Linked DNA regions of Homo sapiens: all the other regions are linked to region 2. The links are contacts of gene promoters, found by promoter capture Hi-C in human tissues and cell types (Jung and others, 2019). All regions are on one chromosome and are shown on one strand. The core of a region is centred on a gene start or on the middle of the fragment in contact, and the rest is flanking DNA. Distances in the headings are between cores, read along the strand shown.

Evidence for each region. Contacts are between HindIII fragments. The study calls those that stand out against the background at their distance.
Region 1: a fragment that was not itself captured here is called in contact with the fragment with the promoter of ZNF486 in region 2 in 1 of the 25 tissues and cell types used here (aorta).
Region 3: a fragment that was not itself captured here is called in contact with the fragment with the promoter of ZNF486 in region 2 in 1 of the 25 tissues and cell types used here (mesenchymal stem cells).

The regions. Positions count from the first base shown.
Region 1 is chr19:19,858,099-19,861,802 of GRCh38, forward strand. It overlaps LOC124904664 (a long non-coding RNA gene), which reads right to left. Exons shown (of 4, transcript XR_007067169.1): 3 at 2,965-3,218; 4 at 722-1,221. Among named protein-coding and RNA genes, the nearest start is that of ZNF253, 5.9 kb to the right of the region's middle. RefSeq lists an enhancer at 2,791-3,341. The HindIII fragment of the contact is 6,030 bases long and covers 1-3,704 here.
Region 2 is chr19:20,164,909-20,168,804 of GRCh38, forward strand. ZNF486 (zinc finger protein 486) reads left to right here and starts at 2,306. Exons shown (of 4, transcript NM_052852.4): 1 at 2,306-2,452. The coding sequence starts at 2,423. All of the region lies in intron 5 of LOC105372310 (a long non-coding RNA gene), which reads right to left. RefSeq lists an enhancer at 2,888-3,829. The HindIII fragment of the contact is 10,632 bases long and covers 1-3,896 here.
Region 3 is chr19:19,892,868-19,896,917 of GRCh38, forward strand. It overlaps ZNF253 (zinc finger protein 253), which reads left to right. Exons shown (of 4, transcript NM_021047.3): 4 at 1-1,807. Among named protein-coding and RNA genes, the nearest start is that of ZNF93, 6.1 kb to the right of the region's middle. The HindIII fragment of the contact is 4,796 bases long and covers 1-3,756 here.

The sequences.
Region 1 (3,704 bases), core at 843-3,342, 310 kb before region 2:
ATTGCACTCCAGCCTGGGCAACAAGAGCGAAACTCTGTTTCAAAAAAAAAAAAATTGCCACTACAGTTAGGTGCAGTGTCTCACACCTGTAGTCCCAGCACTCTGTTAGGCCGAAGCATGTGGATCACCAGGTCAGGAGTTCAACACCAGCCTGGCAAATATGGTGAAACCCCGTCTCTACTAAAAATACAAAAAAAATTACCTTGGCGTGGTGCAGCGCGCCTCTCATCCCAGCTACCCGGGAGGCTGAAGCAGAAGAATCGCTTGAAGCCAGGAGGCAGAGGTTGCTGTGAGCCAAGATCAAGCCACTGCACTCCAGCCTGGCTGAAAAAGCAAGACTCCGTCTCAAAAAAAAAAAAAAAGAAAAAGAAAAAAAATTGCAACTATACTTCAGTTAAAACACTTTATATTTCAAAAGTATAAATAAAATAACCATTTAAGCGATTAATTCAAAGTAAGTATTGTGGCTTAATATTCATAGGATTGTAGAATACAGTGTTTATGGCTCATGCCTGTAATCCCAGTACTTTGGAAGAGTGAGGCAGGTGGATCACCTGAGGTCAAGATCAAGCTGGCCAACATGGTGAGACCCCATCTCTACTAAAAATACAAAAACCTACCCAGGCTTGGTGTTGCATGCTTGTAATCCCAGCTGCACGGGAGGCTGAGGCAGGAGAATCACTTGAACCCAGGAGGTAGAGGTTGCAGTGAGCTGAGATCAAGCCACTGCATTCCAGCCTATGCAACAGAGGGAGACTGTCTAAAAAAAAACTGAGGTCAAAATAAGTAAACAAATCTTTTCAAGGTACAGATCCAATCACCCACCCCATCCTGTTCACTTACATGCGCAATAACCACCCTCCCAGGAGACACTGCACTATGCCCCAGTGAGTGCCCCAGGTGCATTTTACTTTGTAAGTTATTTATGCCATCTCACTGGGGTCAGTTTTTTGTCTTTTGGAGTGTTTTTTCACTATTTTTCTGCCCCTCCCACAAGATAATCCAGAAGACAGAAATTATTTGTTTTCCCCTCAATACCAGCATCTGATTGACTGACCAGCAATGTGTCTCCTAGAAATGAAAGCCAGGTTGAGTGAAGACAATCTTCATGTCTCAAGGGGTTAGCTTTTCAAAAAAAAAAAAGTGCACCAGAAGATGCCTTTCAGCCCCAAGGCTGCCACCTGCTCCCTTGAAAGTCTACACTCCATGCTTCAGGTGGTCCTATGGGAGAAAATGACCCAAGAGATAATAGTCACTAGACACTCTAGCAGACATAGCCATAGTGGGTATGTTGGTTTATTCCCAGAAAGTACTAAAACCCAGGACCAGAAAAAAACTGAAGGTTGGCTGAGGACACATCATCCTACAAAGTTTCCAAAGGGTAATCTTGACCCAAAAACATTCCGGTAAGTTCTCTGGAAAAATAAAAGAAAAAGAGGCGCCAGACACGGTGGCTCACACCTGTAATCCCAGCACTTTGGAACGCAGAGGCGGGCGGATCACGAGGTCAAGAGATCCAGGCCATCCTGGCCAACATGGTGAAACCTCTCTAGCTGGGCATGGTGGCACATGACTGTAGTTCCAGCTACTCAGGAGGCTGAGGCAGGATAATTGCTTGAACCCGGGAGGTGGAGGTTGCAGTGAGCCCAGATCGCGCGGCTGCACAACTGTAGGACCTCACTCCAGTCTGGCAACAGAGCGAAAACTCTGTCTCAAAAAGCAAAACAAAAAAAAGAAAAAAGAAAAAGACACAAATATTTTTTACAATACAGTGTCAGGGGATTATTCTTTGCTTTCTTCTCCTGGGAAATATTTACAAACAGAAAACAAATATTTTCAATAGTGTTATGCCATGCTTTTTAAAGAATGATTAATTGAGGAACATGGGGTACACTTGAGGCCCTGCTTGGGACACATGTGAAAAATGCCAGGGAAAAATCAGTTCCCTGTGAGGTGTGAAAATAATTAATTGCACTTTTTGTTAAATTACTATATTAAGGGAAATAAAATTCAAGCTTACACAACTATAAACTGCCAATTAAGCTCTGAATCATAACTAGGACATTTCCACCTCGATTGTACAAAATAAGAAACTACGTAACTATACCTAACCAACGATTGAATATGGTTTTCTTCATCATGCACCTTATAAATGTCTTTCCTTCAAGCCCCTACCATGGACCATAAAGTACAAACTATAGCTGGGTGCTCAACAATTCTTGAATCACTCTTTAATTAAATTATTTGATATTTTTGCGGCGACTCTCATATTTTTTTTTTTTAGACAGAGTTTTGCTCTGTCGCCCAGGCTGGAGTGCAGTGGTAAGATATCAGCCCCTGCAACCTCTGCCTCTTGGGTTCAAGCGATTCTGTCACCTCTGCCTTCCAAGTAGCTGGGATTACAGACATTCGCCATCACACCCAGCTAATTTTTGTATTTTTAGTAGAGATGGGGTTTCCTCATTTTGACCAGGCTCGTCTTCAACTCCTGACCTCAAGTGATCCGCCCGCCTCGGCCTCCCAAAGTGCTAGGATTCCAGGCGTGAGCCACCGCGCAAGGGCCCATACATTTTTAATAGGAGAAAAGGGAAACTGTGAAGACCAAGCACCAAAGCTCTTCCCATTCATGAACTTGCATCCTGAGTCAGGATTCTCCCCTGAGGACCCTCCCGTGGTCCCTGCACGATCTGGGAGACACGTGGCGCTGTGGGTGCAGAGCTGCCCGGAGAGGGCTCCAGGCCAGGGCACAGTCACTGCGAGGGGAAGAGACAGGACGCCGGGGGGCCCGGGTGTGAGCGCAGCCTCCATCTTACGGCTGAAAGGGACTGAGGCCGAGCTGGGCAAGGAGAACTTGGGGCGCAGATTGCGGAGCTGACTGCGGGGAGGCCTGAGTCCCGCCACAGCCACTTCCCACCGGTTCCAACCAGTTCCTCCCCTGCTCTCGTGATGTCCGACGGCACTCACCATTTCTAGGCTTCCAGGAGGTCCTGGCGTCTTAGCTGTGGATCTCCCAAAACCGTCAGGTCACAGGGCTGGGCCTCCAGCAGCAGAGGACACAGAGTAGTGAAGATGAGACCTGGAGCTCCAGGTGCAGTGAGAGACAAAGGCCCCGCCAAACTCGGAAGTCGACCTGTTCGCTCCAGCTGGGTGTCTGATTGGACGGTTTCCAGCCCAGTGTCCCTGATTGGATAATGCTTAAGGCCTCGCCCCTTCAGGACCTAGTGAGAGAAGATGTGATAAGATGCTGCGCTGAGCAATGAAAGAGTCACAGCCTAAGCTGCATCTTTTTCAGGCAGGGCTTTCTCCCAGAGCTGAGCCAGGCCCACCCCAGAGCATGGGAAAATTCTATCTCTTTTTTGCTCTCTCTTTTTGAATGTATTCGAAAGGTGAACGGAAGTACTTTGCTGTTATATTAATAATACGTAAAATTTTTGTTCAAGAGAAAATCAACTTTTACTTTGGTAATAGTGTATTATCAATACTAAAGCTAATTTTAATAAAACCTTATAAACAAATCAAATTTGTCATTTTTGACCTTTCGAGATTTGCATATATATTTTGTAATCTCTTGTAATTTTTAAACTATTTATATTTTACTTATATCTACATTCCTTTTATTTTTTCAATTTGAAACAACCTTTAAGTAATTTCAAACTGCTATAGGAGATAGAAAGCATTTAGGGACAGGGACTGTGGCTCACGCC
Region 2 (3,896 bases), core at 1,056-3,555:
CGGGCACTCTTCTTTGCTGTTCTCCAACTTCCTTGAGTGACATCTCCAGGCACGGCGGTGAACCAGATGAATAGGTCCTGAAGTTAGCCCCTAGCAAACTGCAGCAGCGCTACAGAAGATGGACCTGACCATTGAAAGAAAAACAAACAGAAAGCAACAATGCATCAACAAGAAAAAAATGTACCCACAAAAACCTCATCCAAAGCCACACATGGTGGCTCACACCTGTAACCCAATACTTTGGGAGGCCGAGGCAGTGGGCAGAGCACTTGAGGTCACGAGTTCGAGACTAGCCTGGCCAACATGGTGAAACCTTGTCTCTACTAAAAAATACAAAAAAAAATAGCCAGGCGTGGTGGTGCATGCCTGTAGTCCCAGCTACTAGGTAGTCTGAGACATGAGAATCACTTGAACCTGGGAGGCAGAATTTGCAGTGAGCTGCGATTGTGCCACTGCACTCCAGCCTGAGTGACAGAGAGAGAGACTGTTAAAAAAAAAAAATCCAAGTGTCAGAAGCCTCAAAGATCGAAACTAGACAAACTCATGAAGATGAGAAAGAATCAACAAAAAACAGCTGAAAGGCCAGAGTGCCTCTTCTCTTCCAAATGATCAAAATGTCTCTTCAGCAAGGTGCAGAACTGGACAGAAGATGAGATGCATGAATTGATAGAAGTAGGCTTCAGAAGATGGTTAATAACAAACTCTGCTGAGCTAAAGAAACATGTTCAAACCCAATTTGAAGAAGCTAAGAACCTCGATAAAAGGTTAGAGGAACTGTTAACTAGAATAACCAGTTTGGAGAGGAACATAAGAGGATGAGATGCATGAATTCACAGAAGTAGGCTTCAGAAGACGGTTAATAACAAACTCTGCTGAGCTAAAGAAACATGTTTGAACCCAATTTGAAGAAGCTAAGAACCTTGATAAAAGGTTAGAGGAACTGCTAACTAGAATAACCAGTTTGGAGAGGAACATAAGAGGATGAGATGCATGAATTCACAGAAGTAGGCCTCAGAAGATGGTTAATAACAAACTCTGCTGAGCTAAAGAAACATGTTCGAACCCAATTTGAAGAAGCTAAGAACCTTGATAAAAGGTTAGAGGAACTGCTAACTAGAATAAACAGTTTGGAGAGGAACATAAATGACCTGATGGAGCTGAAATGTTTGGCATGAGGCCCAGTCACTAGGGCCCTTTGCGACTGGGCTCAAGGAACACAAAAACGTTATCTTGTTTTTCAATAACTAACATATAGGAATAGATTGAAACAGAGATTTCTCTGAAATGACACTACATGAATGCCTCAATGAATGCCTCAAGGGGGTCACACAACCGGTTCTGAGACTTGGTGACCATTGTTTGTGTCTGTGTTCAATTTATTTCAAAATTAATATTTAACTTTTCCTCCACAAATTCCCCTGTCTTGATGAATGGGCTCTGTCTAGGCAAAAGGCCTGTCTTTATGAATCAGCTCTGTCTAGACAAAAGGCAAGGTAAAACCCTTGGGCTGTTACACAACCTCCGCCTCCTGGGTTCAAGCGATTCTCTTGCCTCAGCCTCCGGAGTAGCTGGGACTACAAGTGCACACCAGCACACCCAGATAATTTTTTGTATTTTTAGTAGAAATGGGGTTTCACCATGTTGGCCAGGCTGGTCTTGAACTCCTGACTCAAGTTATCCGCCCACCTTGGCCTCCCAAAGTGCTGGAATTAGAGGCGTGAGCCACTGCGCCTGGTTCTAAATGATTTCTATTTCCTGTAACAATTTGAAATTACTTAAAGGTTGTTTCAAATTGAAAAAAAGAATGTAGATAAAATATAAAAAGTTAAAAAAATTACAAGTGATTATGAAATATATGTGTAAATCTCGAGAGGTCAAAAGTGACAAATCTGATTTATATATAAGGTTTTATTAAAATTAGCTTTAGTATTGATAATACACTATTACCAAAGTAAAAGTTGATTTTCTAACAAAAATTTTATGTATTATTAATATGACAGCAAAATACTTCTGTTCACCTTTTGAATACATGCAAAAAGAGAGAGAGTAAAAAAGAGATAGAATTTTCCCTTGCTCTAGGGTGGGCCTGGCTCAGCTCAGGGAGGAAGCCCTGCCTGAAAAGGCTGCAGCTTAGGCTGTTACTCTTTCATCACTCAGCCCAGCATCTGATCACATCCTCTGTCACTCAGGGACTGAGTGGGCGGGGCCTTAAGCATTATCCAATCAGAGACGCTGGGCTGGAAACCGTCCAATCAGGCAGGCAGCTGGAGCAAAGAGGACGGCTTCCGGGTTTGGCGCGGCCTTTGTCTCTCGCTGCATCTGGAGCTCTAGGTCGCCTCTTCGCTACTCTGTGTCCTCTGCTCCTAGAGGCCCACCCTCTGTGGCCCTGTGTCCTGTAGGTATTGGGAGATCCACAGCCAAGATGCCGGGACCCCTTAGAAGCCTAGAAATGGTGAGAGTGCCCATTGGACATCCTGAGAGAGGGGAGGGACTGGTTGATGGGAAGTGGCTGTGGAGGGACTCAGGCCTCCCCGTAGTCAGCTCCACAATCTGCGTCCGGACTTCTCCTTACCCAGCTCGGCCTCAGTCCCCTTCAGCCATAAGATGGTGGCTGCGCTGACAGCCGGTCCCGGGGCGTCCTGTCTCTTCCCTGCGCAGTGACCGTGCCCTGGCCTGGCGCCCTCTCTGTGCAGCAGCTCTCCACCCGCAGCTTCGGGTCTCTCCCAGATGGTGCGGGAACCACGAGAAGGTCATCAGGGGAGAATCTTGACTCGGGGTGCGGGTTCACGATTCGGAAGAGCTTTGGTCCGTGGGGTTCACAGTTTCTCTTTTCTTTTGTTAAAAATTTATGGGGCCGGGCGCGGTGGTTGACGTCTGTAATCCCAGCATTTTGGGAGGCGAAGGCTGGCGGATCACTTGAGGTAAAGGGTTGCTAGGACAACTAAATTCCTCTTCAAAGACTCAACTTCCTGATCAGAAGTTGTAAAAGTTGTAAAACAACCCTACCCCTTTTTCTCCCTTTTCCTTTTCTCGCAAATCGCTCGTTTATCCTATTTGGAAAAAGTTTGGGTCTAAGCCAACCGGGATCAGCTTAGATTGTGCGGTCTGACCCCAGCCAATAGGGGAAGGACACAAAAACAAAAACTACGTTGGGGTTAAAAACCCATTCCTGGTCGGGCGCGGTGGCTCACGCCTGTAATCCCAGCATTTTGAGAGACCTAGGCGGGAGGATCTTGTGGTCAGGAGTTCTAGACCATCCTGGCCAACACCGTGAACCCCGTCTCTACTAAAAATACAAAAATTAGCCAGGTGTGGTGGCAGGCACCTGTAATCCCAGCTACTTGGGAGGCTGAGGCACGAGAATTGGTTGAACCCAGGAGGCGGAGGTTGCAGTGAGCTGAGACCGCGCCATCGTACTTAAGTGTGCGTGACAGAGCAAGACTCCTTCACACACACAAAAGAAGGGCCAGGCGCAGTGGCTCACGCCTGTAATCCCAGCACTTTGGGAGGCCAAGGCAGGCGGATCACCTGAGTTCGGGAGTTCGAGACCGGCCTGACTAACATGGAGAAACCCTGTCTCTATTAAAAATACAAAATTAGCTGGGCTTGGTGGCGCATGCCTGTAATCCCAGCTACTCGGGAGGCTGAGGCAGGAGAGTTGCTTGAACCCGGGAGGAGGAGGTTGCGGTGAGCCGAGATCGTGCCATTGCACTCCAGCCTGGGCAACAACAGCGAAACTCCGTCTCAAAAAAAAAAAAAAGTAAGAATCTTAAAATTTTCTTCCTTTATGTAAACACTGTTTGAGTAATTTCACTGGATTTTTCAAACACTTAGTTTCAAAAACCAAGTGAATAACACTGACATGGAAATTAAAGCTTGAACCTAGTAATTCCAAG
Region 3 (4,050 bases), core at 109-2,608, 270 kb before region 2:
GACAAAGCTTTTTAAGGAAGTTCTCAACCCTTATTACACATAATTCATACCAAACAGAAGCCCTACAAGTGTGAAGAATGTGGCAAAACCTATAAACCTATAACAAGTTCTCAATTCCTTTTTTTTTGAGATGGAGTTTCACTCTTGTCACCGAGGCTGGAGTGCAATGACATGATCTCCGTTCACTGCAATCTCTGCCTCCTGGGTTTAAGCCATTCTTCTGCCTCAGCCTCCCAAGTAGCTGGGATTACAGGTGCCCAACACCACGCCTGGCTAATTTTTGGATTTTTAGTAGAGATGGGGTTTCACAATGTTGGCCAGGCTGGTCTCGAACTCCTGACCTCAGGTGATCCACCTGCCTTGGCCTTCCAAAGTGCTGGGGTTACAGGCGTGAGCCACCATGCCTGGCTACAAGTTCTTAATTCTTAAGAGACACCATGCCTGGCTACAAGTTCTTAATTCTTAAGAGACATGGCGATAATTCATGCTGAAGAGGAAATCTGGAAACCTGAAAGATGCGACATTGCTTTTACCAACACCTCCACATTTCCTATACATAAAAATAAATTATACTAGTGTAATACCCTAGAAATGTATAAAATGTGACAAAGCCTTTATATGATTGTCATACATGATTGTAGGTGATAGAAGTCATACTGCCAAAACTCCTGTAAGTGTGAAGAATGTGGCAAAATATTTTATTAGTGCTTATACCTTATTTCACAGGAAAGCTCTTATCCTTGAGAAAAATTGTGCAAATACAAAGAATATGGAAAAACCATTAATGCCTACTCACATCTTACTGAACAGAAGAAGGTTCATAGTTAATAAAGCATTAAAAGTGCAATTACTGTCAAAAAATCTTTCAGAAAATAGAAGTCTTTAAAGTGAAGAATATTTATTCTGAAGACAGCCATTACAAATATAAAGGGGGTTGTAGTGCCTTTACTTGTGTCACAGATCTTAGTGCACACATGTAGTACTAGAGGAAAACCCTGAAGCAGTTGCTCAAGCTTTGTTTCAGGGAATCAAGGGAATTTATATTGAGAATAGTACTGCAAATGTAATGAATGGAAAGACTTTTCTTTTCCAAAAATGACAGCTTAGAAAACACCAGAGGGTTTATACCAAAATATATTTTTGCAGATGCAGTAAATATCAAAAAATATTTAATTCAAAATTGATTCTATGTAAATATCAGAGAATTTTCCATAGAATAATTAAGGCACTGACACTTCAGACATTACACTAAATCAGAATGTTCAGTATAAAAACTAATCCACAGCTACAGCTGTTAGATAAATTATTTCTATATAATTTTTTAAAAAGTGGATTTTTGAAGCACTGTAATTACATTGAAAGTATACTTGTTTTCTTGAAAAAATTTTTTTGAAAAGTGAATAATGATATAATACAGCTTTCACATTGCTTTATGCTATTTTATTCCTATTATATTCACATGTGAAAGCATGTGATCAATTGTTGCTGCATTAGAGATATTAGAGATTGTTTTTTATTAGTTGGGCATTATGTATGACCTTTTCTATAAAAGAGTAAGGACATTAAAATGTAAGATGCATGATGAAAATATAAGTGGAGAGGCTCTTTGTAGTTAACTGATATTAAGTAATGTGTAAGGTGGGGGTTCATGTTCTCATTTCTATAATCCTAGCCAATGACTTAATGTTGATGCTTTGAATGTCTTTTGGATGGTCTAACCTACATTAACATGTATGCGGAACATCTTAAAACTTTTTTTCAAAAATCATAATGAATTATTTTATTAATAAGCAAAGATAAAAAATAAGGTGGGGTTTCAGAGTAATGCTTTTCTACATTATAGTGACAGAAAGAAATTATTAATTATAGTTAAAAATATTAAAATACAGCCAGGTATATTTATTGGTTTAGACAGGTTTTAATATAATATTTATGGTTCTTTAAATATAAAGTTGTATGGGATGGGTGCAGTGGCTCATGCCTGTAATCCTAGCACTTTGGGAGGCTGAGGCAGATGGATCACTTGAGGTCAGGAGATCGAGACCAGCCTGACCAACACTGAGAAACCCCACCTCTACTAAAAATACAAAAATTAGCTGGGCATGATGGCACATGCCTGTAATCCCAGCTATTCAGGAGGCTGAGGCAAGAGAATTGCTTGAACGTGGGAGTTCTCAGATTACAGGTGTGCGCCACCATGCCTGGTTAATTTTTGTATTTTTAGTAGAGACGGGGTTTCACCATGTTGGCCAGGCTGGTCCCATACTCCTGACCTGAAGTGATTCGCCCACCTCGGCCTCCCAAAGTGCTGGGATTACAGGCATAAGCCACCGCACCCTGCCTATTTTTTTCTTACTGAAATTTATTATTAGTATTTGTGGGTATATTGTATGTGTATATATTTATGCCTTATATGGTATATTTTGATTCAGGCATACAATATGTAGAAATTTCATTAGGGTAAATAAGATATCCGTCACCTCTAGCGTTTATCATTTGTATTACAAACAGTGTAATTATACACTTTTAGTGCATAATTTAATGAAGCAGGTGGATTGCCTGAGGTCAGGAGTTCAAGATCAGCCTGGCCAATATGGTGAAACCCCGTCTCTACTAAAAATACAAAAATTAGCTGGACGTGGTCGTGCATGCCTGGAGGCTGAGGCAGGAGAATTGCTTGAACCCTGGAGGGACAGTTTTTTAAATAAGATTAAGGACTGAGGACTGGTTGGGGCTCATAAATGATATGAGTAAAGTGTTAGCTAAAACAGAAGAAAAAGGGGTGCCCAAACAAGTCACCTTAAAATTTGATGCCTGTGCTGTCATTAATAGTAATAAGTTAGGAATAAGGTGTGGTTCTCTTAATTAGAAAAGAGGCTATATGGCAGAAAATAAATACAACTGTCATAAATTAGCACTGTGTGGAAATAAATGTGAACACTGGTCTTGTGTCATTTAGGCCACTTGGATTAAAAAAAAAAATGAAAAAGATCCATCCCACCTTCAGAAAGGAAAAAATGGCCCTTCCTGTACTCAGGGACAATGTAACCCCTTAGAGCTAGTCATAACCAATCCCCTTGATCCTCGCTAGAAAAAAAGAGGAGCATGTGACCTTAGGAATCGACGGGGCCAGACTGGATCCTTGAGTAAATATCTTGGTTCGAGAAGCTTACAAAGACTCTCCTGAGCCAGTGTTTCAAACTTTCTATGATGAACTAAATGTGCCAGTACCAGAAATTCCAGGAAAAACAAGAAATTTGTTTTTGCAATTAGCCAAGCATGTAGCCCAGTCTCTCAATGTCACTTCATGTTATGTATGTGGAGAAGCTGTAATAAGAGATCAATGGCCATGGGAAGCCTGAGAATTAGTACCTACAGTACCTGATGAATTCCTGGCTCAAAAGAATCACCCTGATAATTTCTGATCCTAAAAGCCTCAATTATTAAACAATATTGCATAGCTAGAGAAGGAAAAGAATTCACTCACCGCGTAGGATGACTTAGTTGTCGGAGACAGAAACTGTATAATGGTACCACAAAAACAATCACTTGGTGGAGTTCAAATCACACAGAGAGAAAATTTAGTAAATTCTCAAAGTTGCAAACTGGACCCACCTGGAGTCCCACCGGGACTGGACAGCCCCCACTGGATTATACTGGATATGTAGGCATAGAGCTTATGACAGATTACTGACCAGTAGGCAGGTAGTTGTGTTATTGGCACTATTAAACCATCTTTCTTCCTACTGCCCATAAAAACAGGCAAACTCCTTGGCTTCCCTGTCTACGCTTCCCGCGAAAAGAGAATCATAGCTATAAGAAATTGAAAAAATGATAAATGGCCCCCTGAGAGAATCATACAATATTATAGGCCTGCTACTTAGGCACAAGATGGCTCATGGGGATACCGGACCCCCATTTACATGATCAACCGAATCATATGGTTACAAGCTGTCTTAAAAATAATCACTAATAAAACCAGCAGAGCCTTGACTATTCTGGCCTGGCAAGAAACTCAGATGAGAAATGCTATATATCAAAATAGATTAG